Linked DNA regions of Homo sapiens: regions 1 and 2 are each linked to region 3. The links are contacts of gene promoters, found by promoter capture Hi-C in blood cells and fetal thymus (Javierre and others, 2016). All regions are on one chromosome and are shown on one strand. Each heading gives the region's core, a stretch centred on a gene start or on the middle of the fragment in contact. The rest is flanking DNA. Distances are from core to core; before and after follow the strand shown. Region 1 holds the start of ZNF649 (zinc finger protein 649). Region 2 holds the start of ZNF836 (zinc finger protein 836). Region 3 holds the start of ZNF345 (zinc finger protein 345).

Region 1 (4,247 bases), core at 732-3,231, about 15 Mb after region 3:
GGAATAAAGGATATTACGAAGGATACAGATGAAGAGGCAGATGGAAGGGATAGCACAGAGCAAGGTTTGTAGCAAGGGGCGTGGGACTTCCATGCCCTCCACGGAAGCTTATTAGAGACTCAGTTCACCACCCTCAGGCACCTCCACATGCTCAAGAATCTGTAAGTTCCCCAGAAGTTCACCAGTCCTTTTGAGTTTTTACGCTGGTTTCATTATGTGGGCATACTTGATTAAAACACTAACCACTGGTGATCAACTCAACCTTCAACTTCCCTGTTGCCAGGCAGAGCTAAAATTTCCAACCCTCAAATGACATGGTTAGTTGCCCTGGCAACCAGCCTCCCCCGTCCTAAGGCCAGCCAGAAGCCCCCAGTCACCAGCCATCTCAATGCCACACAAAAAGGCACTGTTTACTGAAGAGGTTCCAAGGCTTTTGGGAGACATGTGCCAGGAAACAGGACAAAGATCGATTATACATTTCTTATAAATCGTAACAATCATAGCTAGGCGCGATGGCTCATGCCTATAATCCCAGCACTTTGGAAGGCCGAGGCGGGCAGATCACCTGAGGTCAGGAGTTCAAGACCAGCCTGGCCAACGTGGTGAAAGCCTGTCTCTACTAAAAATACAAAAATTAGCCGGGCGTGGTGGCGGGCGCCTGTAATCCCAGCCACTCGGGAGGCTGAGGCAGGACAGTCGCTAGAACCCAGGAGGCGGAGGTTGCAGTGAGCTGAGATCGCACCACTGCACTCCAGACTGGACAACAGAGCTAGATTCCGTCTGGGGGATAGGAGGAAACTTTGATCCCCAAATGCTCAAGGAGACTGATGCTTAAGCAAACTAAATATTGCCTGAGAACGACTCCATACTTCTATATTTGAGTCCTTGTGGATAAACTGCAACCTAGCTTAACAGACAAAATTGAAAACCGAACTTAATCGTATGCACCTGTAACAATAGCTGAGTGGTGGCCAGTCCCAGCGGCCATACTCATAGACTGCTGAATGTTCCAACTGCGTTCAAATAAGGCAAACGCCGAATGGTAACCAATCTCACTGTTTCTGGACCTCGCTTCCGATTCCTGTATGTCACTTTACCTTTTTTGTCTATAAATTTGTTCTGACCACGAGGCACCCCTGGAGTCTCTGTTAATCTGCTGTGATTCTGGGGGCTGCCCAATTCGCGAATCGTTCATTGCTCAAGGAAACTCCTGTAAATTTAATTCGGCTTCAATTTTTCTTTTATCACTGATTTGAGTAATAATAAAACTCCGGTCTCCCCGCACAGCCGGCTCTGCATGAATTGCTCTTTCTCCATTGCAATTTCCCTGTCTTAACAAGTCGGCTCTGTCTAGGCAGCCGGCAAGGGTGGGCGGTTATAGTTTCACAACTCAACCCCAGCCAGGGGCCTGGGCTTGTAAAATACCAGATTTTACAAGCCTCTGAGCCCCACATGCCTGGGCCTCCCCGAAACACTTAACACACATCCCCGATTCACCCCAAAACCTACACCACACACCCTCGTACGCTGCCCAGCACCCCGGCTTCATCACCGACTTTAAACTGCAGCATTTGGAGTGATAATAATGGCGTCGGTGATAAAGCCGGCGTGCTGGGCAGCGTCCCCCTAGAGTTCTCCATCCAGTGATCCAGAGGCCTACTAACAGAGTGACCCTCAGAGACCCCAAACTCTGACGCCGAGTCTCAGTCGCTGAACTCGACAGACCTTTAACGCCCGACCACAAGAACTCTCCCACGCCGGACCGCAAAGGCACCCCAACCCAAAGGCTCCACCGCCCAGGCCGCCAGCTCTCCCCACAGGCTCCTCAGAAGCTCCCTACCCCTTTAACCTACTCCACGGAGAGACCCAAACACTCACCTGATTTTCTTCTGGCTACACCTAAATTCCCTGAATGCTTCCTTTCCTGGCCCTTAAACCCCGGCACTGGCCTATGGCGGCGGACGAGGGCGCGAGTCAATTCTGCCGCGCTAGGACGATGGGACATGGGCTTCTCTTCGAGGAGGTAACATGTCCGCGCCCTGAGCCACGGCTCTCTGGGCGCGGCCATCTTGGTAGATCTGCCGTACAGAAGGGAAACAGTTGTTCTTGTGTCATTAAACCGGGATGACTCTCCTGAAAGCAAAAATTTGAGGCGCAGGAGCATTTTCTAGAGTTTATCTGAACAAACAGCAATTCATGAATTAGGAAGCATCAAACCAAAAGAAGTCTCGCGCTTCTATGCTTAAAGCATTAGACACAAGTATTCACAGGGTGAGTGAAGGAGTAAAACAAAGAAATTATTTGATTAGTTACAATTATAAAAATGCATTTTTTTAAATTTGCCTTGGAAAGTCCCTAATGACATAATAGCATGTGAGTTGCCTACTTTTGATCGGTTGAGATTGAGTTTTGTCCTTCCCTAACACAAGCATTTACCAGAAATGACTCAAGTGAATTGTTGCTTATGTTTGCAGGTTAAGCAAGGTTAAGGCTGTTTTTAAGGCCTACTGGGTTTTGTTTGCTCAGGAGTTTTTGAATTCTGGTCTGCATTTTAATTTTGCTTTGACACAGGAGACAGTGAAATGGCACTGATGTGTTCCCTCTCCTGACACCTCAACCCCTGCACTGTGAGGTTGGAGCACTAACAACAGTGCACTGTGGGGAAAAGAAAGAGAGATCAGACTGTTACTGTGTCTATGTAGAAAGAAGTAGACATAAGAGACTCCATTTTGTTCCGTACTAAGAAAAATTCTTCTGCCTTGAGATGCTGTTAATCTGTAACCCTACCCCCAACCCTGTTCTCACAGAGACGTGTGCTGTGTTGACTCAAGGTTTAATGGATTTAGGGCTATGCAGGATGTGCTTTGTTAAACAAATGCTTGAAGGCAGTATGCTTGTTAAAAGTCATCACCACTCTCTAATCTCAAGTACCCAGGGACACAATACACTGCGGAAGGCCACAGGGACCTCTGCCCCAGAAAGCCAGGTATTATCCAAGGTTTCTCCCCATGTGATAGTCTGAAATATGGCCTCGTGGGAAGGGAAAGACCTGACCATCCCTCAGCCCGACACCCGTAAAGGGTCTGTGCTGAGGAGGATTAGTATAAGAGGAAGGAAGGCCTCTTGCAGTTGAGACAAGAGGAAGGCATCTGTCTCCTGCTCGTCCCTGGGCAATGGAATGTCTCGGTATAAAACCCGATTGTATGTTCCATCTACTGAGATAGGAGAAAATCGCCTTAGGGCTGGAGGTGAGACAAGCTGGCGGCAATACTGCTCTTTAATGCACCGAGACGTTTATGTATGTGCATATCAAAGCACAGCACCTTCTTCTTAAGCTTGTTTATGACACAGAGACATTTGTTCACATGTTTTCCTGCTGACACTCTCCCCACTATTATCCTATTGTCCTGCCACATCCCCCTCTCCGAGATGGTAGAGATAATGATCAATAAATACTGAGGGACTCAGAGACCGGTGCCGGCGCGGGTCCTCTGTATGCTGAGCACCGGTCCCCTGGACCCACTTTTCTTTCTCTATACTTTGTCTCTGTATCTCTTCTTTTCTCAGTCTCTCGTCCCACCTGACGAGAAACACCCACAGATGTGGAGAGGCAGGCCACCCCTTCACTGCACAAACCACACAGATATTCAGAGGCTCAAATGCAACCAAGGCTGTTGCGGGAAGTCAGGGACCCCAAACGGAGGGACCGGCTGAAGCCATGGCAGAAAAACATGGATTGTGAAGATTTTATGGACATTTATTAGTTCCCCAAATTAATACTTTTGTAATTTCTTATGCCTGTCTTTACTGCAATCTGTAAACATAAATCGTAAAGATTTCATGGACACTTATCACTTCCCCAATCAATATCCTTGTGATTTCCTATGCCTGTCTTTGCTTTAATCTCTTAATCCTGTCAGCCGAGAAGGATGTATATCGTCTCAGGACCCTGTAATAATTGTGTTAACTACACAAATTGTACAGCATGTGTGTTTGAGCAATATGAAATGTGGGCACCCTGAAAAAAGAACAGGATAACAGCAATTGTTCAGGGAATAAGAGAGAGAACCTTTAACTCTGACCGCCGGTGAGCCGGGCGGAACAGAGCCATATTTGTCTTCTTTCAAAAGCAAATGGGAGAAATATCACTGAATTCCTTTTCTCAGCATGGAACGTCCCTGAGAAACAGAATGCGCACCTAGGGGTAGGTCTCTGAACTGGCCTCCCCCGGGCGTACCTGTCTCTTA
Region 2 (4,202 bases), core at 793-3,292, about 15 Mb after region 3:
CAACTCTTTCACCTTCTCCCCACTGTCTGTCTGCAGTGCCTCCTCCTTTGCCGCCCCACTCTATTTTGCTGCCTTTCATCTCTCTGAAGGTCCCCCTTTTTTTCTAAATTTCTCTGTGTGCTTTCCTCCCCCTGCTTCTTTCTCCATTCGTTCTCTTTCACTCTTGCTGTCTCTTTGCAAATCCCTAAATTATCATCCATTTTGCCGTGTATTTATGGGTCTCCCTCATTCTCTTCTATTCGGTCTTTCCTTTTGCTCCGTCGCTCCCCTTCTTTTCCTCTCCTGATCCCTCTCACCCACACATTCAGTAAGAAAGGGGAGGAATAGGATGCCCACCTCCCGGAAAAGCATATTTTCCAGTGGAGTAAAATTTGGGAAGGAAGAACACTGGGTGTCACAAGACTCAGGTGACCTCCCCCAAGGGGGGGATCGAGAAAAGCAGTGGCTGTGAAGGGGAAGCCTGGGGAGCGAAAGGACCCGGCGTGAGGAGGACACAAGGTGGCAGGGGGTACGGTGTCTCAGGACAGGGAGGGTCTGCAGAATCCCAGGACCTGGGAGGAGAAGCGACTCCTTCAGGAGCCGGACGGCGGGCGCTCCCCTCCAGGGGCTGACGACGGAGAAGCTCCGGGGTCGCAACGGGCGGGAATCCACCTCCCGAGTGAGGACTCGACTTGGCGCAGGGCCGAAGCAGAGGTCAGTAAGGGTTTTAAGCAGGAACACGACCTGAGTGGGGTTGTCTACATGGTCCTAAGGCAGAAAGGCAGGGAGCAAGGAACAGCCTCAGAGAGATTTTTAAACCGAAAGGGAAGCAATTATCAGACTTACTTGGGGCGAAGGGGCTGTTGCTGGTATTTTAAGGTCCGTAGCGATCCCCAGGAAACGGGTATGGACAAGGGAAGACTGCCAAGTGCACGTTCGATTCAGGCAGACGGGGCGAAGCAAATGTTTAGTCCAGGTAGACGGAAACTGACGCGCAGCGCTGTGATCTTTTCCCCGCGCGATCTGCTTCCGGGTGTGCAGGAAGCTACACGCCCTGAGAAAAAAGACTGAGAGACCTGGGGCGGGAGAGGGGCCTGGGCGGGGTGCGACCCGCAAGGGAAAGGGCAGAAAGACTGGCCAGATTTGGGAACCCTGAAAGGGTGGGGCAAGGCTGATGCGGTAGTGGGCGGGGCCAGGTGGGCTAAGCGGGACGGGCGGTGTGGGCGGGACCTGTTTGGTGGGCGGGGCCTGTTATTCGCTCTGCCTTCCACCCAGCAAGTCTTTGTTCTCCCGATTTAGGAGTATTTGTGACTATTTCTTGTCCTGTGAAGCAGCGTTGCTTCCTGCCTATTTTAAGTTAATGTTTTAGACTTTAAGGTCAAAGCTTAAAGTTGTGGTCCACTTCTGTTGGAAACTAAGATGTTTTCTTCTTGTCAAGTTGAACTGATTTAAGTCAAAATCGATTTTTGCGAGCCTGGTGGACTCCATCGGGTCTTGCCAGTGAGGCTGAAGCCAGTTAAGGCTGAAGTTACTCAGTAGTCAGGGAACTAGGATCTCCGTGAAGATCTGATGTGCAGCCGTGGCTGGATCCAGGAACCCTGAAGACATTATGCTAAGCGAAATGTGCTAGACACAGAAAGACAAATCCTGCATGTGCTTACTTACATGTGCAATCTACAAACATCAAAATTACAGTAACAGAGTAGAAGGGTGGTTTCCAGGGCTGACGGTCTATCCTGTGCCTGTCCCACCATTGTATTTTGGAAGCAAATAGCTTCTTTGGCTTCACAGTTTCACAGCTGGACAGAAATTTTGCCTCAGGATGAACCACACTTTGAGTCTCACCCATATGTGATTCAGATAATATTTGGGTAATATTTGGGCCTTAGAGTTTGATACTGAAATGGATTAAGACTTTTGAAATGGGCCAGGAGCAGTGGCTCTGGCCTGTAATCCCAGCTCTTTGGGAGGCCAAGGTGGAAGGATTGCTTGAGCTCAAGAATTCAAGACCAACCTGGGGCAACATAGTAAGACCCTTGTCTCTACAAAAAATACAAAAATTAGCCAGGCATGGTGGCTCACGCCTATAGTCACAGCTATTTGGGAGGCTGAGGTGGGAGGATCTCTTGAGCCCAGGGGATCAAGGCTGCAATGAGTTGTCTTTGCACCACTGAACTGCTGCCAGGGCAACAGAGTGAGACTCTGTCTCAAAAAATAATAATAATAAGACTTTTGAGATGTTAGGATGGGGGTGAAGGGATCTTGCATGTGAGAAGGACATGAATTTTGGGAGTCCAGAGTACAGAATGTTATGAGCTGAATCACGTCCCTAAAAAATCATTGTTGGCCAAGCGCGGTGGCTCATGCCTATAATCCCAGCACTTTGGGAGGCCGCGGCGGGCGGATCACAAGGTCATGAGATCGAGACCATCCTGGTTAACACGGTGAAACCCTGTCTCTACTAAAAATGCAAAAAATTAGCCGGGCGTGGTGGCGGGTGCGTGTGGTCCCAGCTGCTCCGGAGGCAGAGGCAGGAGAATGGCGTGAACCCAGGAGGCGGAGCTTGCAGTGAGCCGAGATCCAGCCACTGCACTCCAGCCTGGGCGGCAAAGCGAGACTCTGTCTCAAAAAATAAATAAATAAATAAAATAAAATAAATCATTGTCTTTAAGTTCTAACACCCAGTACCTCAGAATATGACTGTATTTTGAAATAGGGCATTTAGAGGCTATTAAGTTAAACTAAGCTTGTTAGAATGGGCTCTGATGCAATCTGACTGATGTTTTGATAAGAGGAAATTTGGCTGGAAGCAGTGCTTCATGCCTGTAATCCCAGCACTTTGGGAGGTCAAGGTGGATGGATCACTTGAGCTCAGAAGTTTGAGACCAGCCTGGCCAACATGGTGAAACCCCATCTCTACTGAAAATACAAAAATTAGCCAGGTGTGGTGGCGCATGCCTTTAGTGCCAGCTACTCGGGAGGCTGAGGCAGGAGAATTGCTTGAATCTGGGAGGCAGAGCTTGCAGTGAGCCGAGATCGCGCCACTGCACTCCAGCCTGGGTGACAGGGTGAGACTCTGTCTCTTAAAAAAAAAAAAAGAAAAATTAGCCGGGTGTGGTGTCACGCACCTGTAATCTCAGCTACTTGGGAGGCTGAGGCAGGAGAATCGCTTGAACCCGGGAGGCGGAGGTTGCAGTGAGCCAAGATCGTGCCACTGCCCTCCAACCTAGGCTCAAAAAAAACAGTGTGTGGCACCTCCCCATTCTCTGTCTTCCTCCTGTCTGGGCATGTGAAGTACTTGCCTCCCCTTCACCTTCTGCCATAATTGTAAGTTTTCTGAGGCCTCTCCAGAAGCCAAGCAGATGCCAGCATCATGCTTCCTGTACAGCCTGCAGAGCCATGAGCCAATTAAACCTCTTTTCTTTATAAATTACCCAATCTCAGGTATTTCTTTATAGCAATGTGAGAACAAACTAATACACTGGCACTACAGGCATGTGCCACCACACCTGACTAATTTTCAAATTTTTTGTAGAGATAGGGTTTCACGTTGTTGTCCATGCTGGTCTTGAACTCCTGGGCTCAAGTGAGCCTCCTGCCTTGGCCGCCCAAACTGTAAAGTAGATAAAATTTAAAAAATGTATATTTTTCCAAGGCCGGGGGCTGTGGCTCACACCTGTAATCCCAGCACTTTGGGAGACTGACGGGGGCTGATCACGAGGTCAGGAGATCGAGACCATCCTGGCTAACATGGTGAAACCCCGTCTCTACTAAAAATACAAAAAATTAGCCAGGCGTGGTGGCACGCACCTGTAGACCCAGCTACTTGGGAGGCTGAGGCAGGGGAATCGCTTGAACCTGGGAGGTGGAGGTTGCAGTGAGCCGAGATCGCGCCACTGCACTCCAGCCTGGGGACAGAGTGATACTCCGTCTTAAAAAAAAAAATTTCCTTCAGATGAGTAGGTAATTAAGTAAGAAAGAAATATAAATCTTAAAAAAGGGCTGGGCATGGTGGCTCACGCCTGTAATCCCAGCACTCTGGGAGGCTGAGGTGGGTAGATCACCTGAGGTCAGGAGTTCAAGACCAGACTGTCCAACATGGTGAAACCCAGTGTCTACCAAAAATACAAAAATCAGCCCGGCATGGTGGTGGGCGCCTGTAATCCCATCTACTCAGACTGAGGCAGGAGAATCTCTTGAACCCAGGACAGGAAGGTTGCAGT
Region 3 (4,426 bases), core at 1,699-4,198:
CCATCTTGGAATCAGAGAGCAGACCTACCAGACACCTATCCTGCTGGCATCTCAATCTTGAACTTCCCAGCCTCCAGAACTGTGGGAAATAATTTTCTATTATTTACAAATTACTTTTCAGGTATTTTGCTTCTCAGGTATTTTGCTGTAGAAGTACTAAGGGACTAAGACACTTCAGTTCCTGAAATAGCACCAGAGTAATAAATGTGAAAGATGTCTTTACTGTTCATTAACCAACCCCTTTCAACCACAAGTGAGTTAATGAGGTGAAGTTAGTAAAGCCCCTACATAACCACAGGATAGGGCAACCAAACATGTGATTAGAATGTTGGAAAGTTCTGCCCTACCCCATGACTTCTGGGAAAAGGAAAAGGGCTGAAGGTTGAACTCATCACCAATCGCTGCTGATTTAATTAATCATGCCTACATAATGAAGCCTTCATAGAAACACAAAGGGCTGAGTTCAAACAGCTTATTTCCCGGACTACCCCACAGGCGTTTTCTTTTTTCTGTTTTTTAGGAGACATTGGTGGGGTAAACATACAAAAATGTGATTGCCTCACTCAACCAAGAGCCTTAGCCATAATTAAAAGATGTTCAGATGGAGCTGTACAGGAATGTGATGCTGGAGAACTAGAGCAACAGAGCCACATTAGGTATAGATCGCTTGCCTGTATAGTCCAAATTTTGTTGTTTTTGTTTTTTGGGTCTTTTTGTTTGTTTGTTTGTTGTATTTTGTTTTGTTTTAAGGAGCGGAGAGTTTAATAGGCAAGAAGGAAGGGAGAAGACAGAAGGAAGAAGTTCCCCCATACAGAGATGGGGGTTGGGGGGGTGGTGGCTCCAAAGCCGAAAGAGGAGGTCCCCTTGTTTTTTGGGGGTTTTTTGAGACGGAGTCTCACTCTGTCATCCAGGCTGGAGTGCAGTGGTGCGATCTCAGTTCACTGCAACCTCTGTCTGCCGGGTTCAAGCCATTCTCCTGCGTCAGCCTCCAAAGTAGCTGGGATTACAGGTGCACACCACCACGCCCAGCTAATTTTGTATTTTTAGTAGAGACGGGGTTTCACCATATTGGCCAGGCTGGTCTTGAACTCCTGGGCTCAAGTGATCCACCCACTTCAGTCTCCCAAAGTGCTGGGATTACAGGCGTGAGCCACCGCACTCATGCTTGGTTTTTTTGTTTTGTTTTGTTTGTAGAGAGTATGCTGTTCAGGCTGGTCTCAAACTCCTGAGCTCAAGTGATCCTCCTGCCTCAGCCTTCCAAAGTGCTGAGATCACAGGCATGAACCACCATGCCCGGCCCTTCCTGCCATTGTTAAAAGCTTCAGGATTATATTTTACATCAGCATTTCCTGTTGTCATACACTTCCTGCCATCATATTTCGGCAACCTCTACCACCTCCCAAAGTTTCTAGCTTAAAAAATTATTGATTTCCTCCTAGCTCCCCTTTCTGTCAGTTTTTTAATTTTATATTTGTTTTCAAATGAGTCCTCACATTGATTTTAAAAATTTAACAAGAGTATAGTGAAAAGGAAGTTCCCCTTTCACTATTTATCTTCCCCATATGCATCTATTATGACGGGTTTCTTTTTTAAACTACTTGGAGTACTCATAACTGATTTTGTACTCTAGTTCAGAAGAAATGTCTGAATGTTAAATGTTTACATAAAAAATGCTATTTTATTATATCAGTAATGGAGCTTCCCCCCTTTAAAACTGCTGCACCAGGAAGATACAACCTTGTTATCACAATTTAAAGAGAAAATGAGACTTGGAGGTTCAGATTCCTCCACAGTCATAGTATCAGCTACCCACGCAGTGACCCACATTCAGGTGATTACACACACTCATACACAGATCCATACACGATCTTGCCCCCCCCACCTCCACACACTCAATATGACCTCCCCACGCCCAAAGCTGCACACATCTTGACCTCACTTCTCTCACACACACACCAATCTGACCCGCACGCGGTTTCTTTCACTCAACTACCCAGACACCCCTCATCCCACCAGCACAAGCAGGCCCACCGCGGTCTCACACACACTCGAGCCTTCCTTTGCCCAGTCTCACATGCATGACTGGGATCGCGGATTTGTCCCCTTCCGACTCCCCATGCTGGTTCGGTCCCAGACGCTCAGGTGCCACATTGGGGTGCGCTCTCCCGGCTCCTCCACACGCTACGCAGCTGCCCGCCTCAAGAGCGTCTGCGTGCTTCCAGCGTTAAGTGGAATTCCAAGCAGCCTCCGGGGCACAGTTAGTCTGGTCACTGCGGCCAGACTGCCGCCTCAGGACCCAGAGAACGCAGCACACTTTAGTTGGGCCCATCTATCCCCGGCGAGGCTTGGACTACGTTTCCCAGGAGACCCTGCGGTCCAGTATGTCTCCCGAGGAGGGGCGGAAGCCCGGGAGCCGCCCTCTGAGGCTGGGCGGGGTGAAAGAAAGCTTGCCCCAGAGGACTTAAACAGGCAAGAAGGACTTGGTTAAAGACTATTGCAATAGTCAACTTCCAATACAACAGCAGCTGGAGATTTATAGCTAACGGGCTGGGTGAAGGAGTTAAAGGATGCTAAATTACTAAGAGGAAGTTAAGTATCAAGAGTGGGGGGATTGTTACTAAACTGGCTTAGCTGGATTCTTGCTGAAGTGCTGTTCGCAGGCTATGGAGGAGGCCTGGCCAAGCAAAAAGGGCTCAGAGGAGCCTGACTAAAGCTTGGTCTAGGGACTCCTTGTCAGGTGAGACTCCCGGAAGGCTCCGATGGGCAGCTCACCTCAAAGAGATAGTTTTGTTGGTGCCAGAGTCCGCGCCAGGGGAATCGGGATGGCTGGGCTGTAGCTTTCGGCAACCTGTCGCTTTCTGGACTACACTTCCCAGAAGCCTCTAGGCCCAGGGCACTCTCCCGCGATAACTAGATTGTCTCTTGAGGAGTGGGCGGGATCTTCCCGCGGATTTGGGCAAGCGGCCTTGGGGCTTTGTGAGATAGCTAGGGTCGACTTGTGTGGATTCTAGTAGAACGGAGCTGACCCTATCCGAACAGGCGTAAGTGAGGCGGCTCGGAGCCTGGCGCGACAGGAACTCCCGACCTGTGTGGGCTGCGTGGGGAACAGGCTAAGGAGCGATTGTGAGGAGTGTGTACGGTTGTGACTGGGGGCGTGTGTCTGTGCGACCGTGTATGGAACTGTGAGGGCGGGGAGGAGGACTTTTTGTTTATGTTTGTGCGGGTGTGAGTAGAGTTTAATTGTGACCGGGTTGGGCACTGTGTTTGCGAGTGTGAGGTTCCTGGACCGCGGTTGTGACTGTATGTCCCCTTGGGGTGTGTGTGTGTGTGTTTACTACCATTTGCCGAACTGTGTGTAGTATGCCTTAATTTTGAGGTTTGTGGCTGCTTCCGTGTGTGTGTGTGCGCGCGCGTTGGTGATATTGTTGATGGAGGGTGCGTGTGAATTTGTTGTCATTGTGACCCCAAGGTGTATGTCACTGGGAATTTGAGAGATGCCCACGGACTCTGTGGTTGTGTCCGTGTCTACCCCCGTGGTGTGTATGAGTGTGTGATTGTGTGTTGTGTTTAGGTTTGGGGTGCCTGTGACGTTTATGTCCCTGCGGTGTGAGTGAGTTTGTGTGACTATGTGTCCGTATAGCCAATGTAGGTATGGGGAGTCTTTGTCTTTGTGACTTCAGCCATTGGAGACCCCTGTGAGCTCAGGGACAGGTTCTGCCCAGAACGGCATTGACCCTACCGTTGTCTGTGATGCCCGGATTAAGCAGGATGCCCTAGACTTCTCTGACCTTCCTCTGTAGGTGATGGGCAGTAGGGGCTGAGCAAAGATAACTTCTGACATAGTCAAACCAACTCCCTCTCAGAAGAACCTGATGTTTCCTGACTGCTTTCTCCTTCCTCAGCCCTGCCCTGCTTGGATAGAGGCCTCCGAACAGGAGTAAAGAATGGCTGTTGAACATCCACAAGGCACCTGCAAGGTAGCTTGTCCTGTCCTCTTGTTTAAGAAAAATCCCTTTTTCTTTGTCAGGACATAGTTGCTTTCCTTCTCTTGAAAATTCTTGCCTATGAGATGACCTGATCCCTGGAGTTTCCATTTTGAGAAAATGTGGTGTCTTCAAACCCCACCTCCCACACCTGATTTTCCCTTACTGATTTGTCAGATGGTTTTAATTTTTCTTTTTCTTTTTTTTTTCTTTCTTTCTTTTTTTTTTTTTTTTTTTGAGACAGAATTACAGGCGTGAGCTGCTGTGCCCGGCCTTATCCTTCTACTCTTGATGGACATTTGTCTTGTAATTTTTGGCTACTACAGGCAGTGTGACTATGATCATTTTGTGCGCATATTTTGGTACACATTTGCTTGCATTTCTTTAGAATATATACCTAGTGATTAAATTGCTGATAGTGGCTGGATGCAGTGGCTCATGCC

What was found. Contacts are between HindIII fragments. The CHiCAGO score rates a contact against its expected background, and 5 or more counts as called.
Region 1: the fragment with the promoter of ZNF649 here is called in contact with the fragment with the promoter of ZNF345 in region 3 in 6 of 17 cell types (total B cells, total CD4 T cells, naive CD4 T cells and 3 more); the score reaches 9.5 in total B cells.
Region 2: a contact is called between a fragment that was not itself captured here and the fragment with the promoter of ZNF345 in region 3, in 1 of 17 cell types (non-activated CD4 T cells). The highest score is 6.1, in non-activated CD4 T cells.

What each region holds. Positions count from the first base shown.
Region 1 is chr19:51,903,036-51,907,282 of GRCh38, forward strand. ZNF649 (zinc finger protein 649) reads right to left here and starts at 1,982. Exons shown (of 5, transcript NM_023074.4): 1 at 1,879-1,982. RefSeq lists enhancers at 115-660, 1,751-2,295, 2,014-2,133, 2,624-3,248, 4,132-4,247. The HindIII fragment of the contact is 3,228 bases long and covers 106-3,333 here.
Region 2 is chr19:52,170,511-52,174,712 of GRCh38, forward strand. ZNF836 (zinc finger protein 836) reads right to left here and starts at 1,111. Exons shown (of 5, transcript NM_001102657.3): 1 at 826-1,111. RefSeq lists an enhancer at 510-649 and a silencer at 1,230-1,279. The HindIII fragment of the contact is 1,362 bases long and covers 1,362-2,723 here.
Region 3 is chr19:36,847,928-36,852,353 of GRCh38, forward strand. It overlaps ZNF345 (zinc finger protein 345), which reads left to right and starts at 2,949. Exons shown (of 3, transcript NM_001242472.2): 1 at 2,949-3,041; 2 at 3,903-3,977. It also overlaps a transcript of ZNF790 not described here. RefSeq lists an enhancer at 2,472-2,711. The HindIII fragment of the contact is 2,588 bases long and covers 2,712-4,426 here.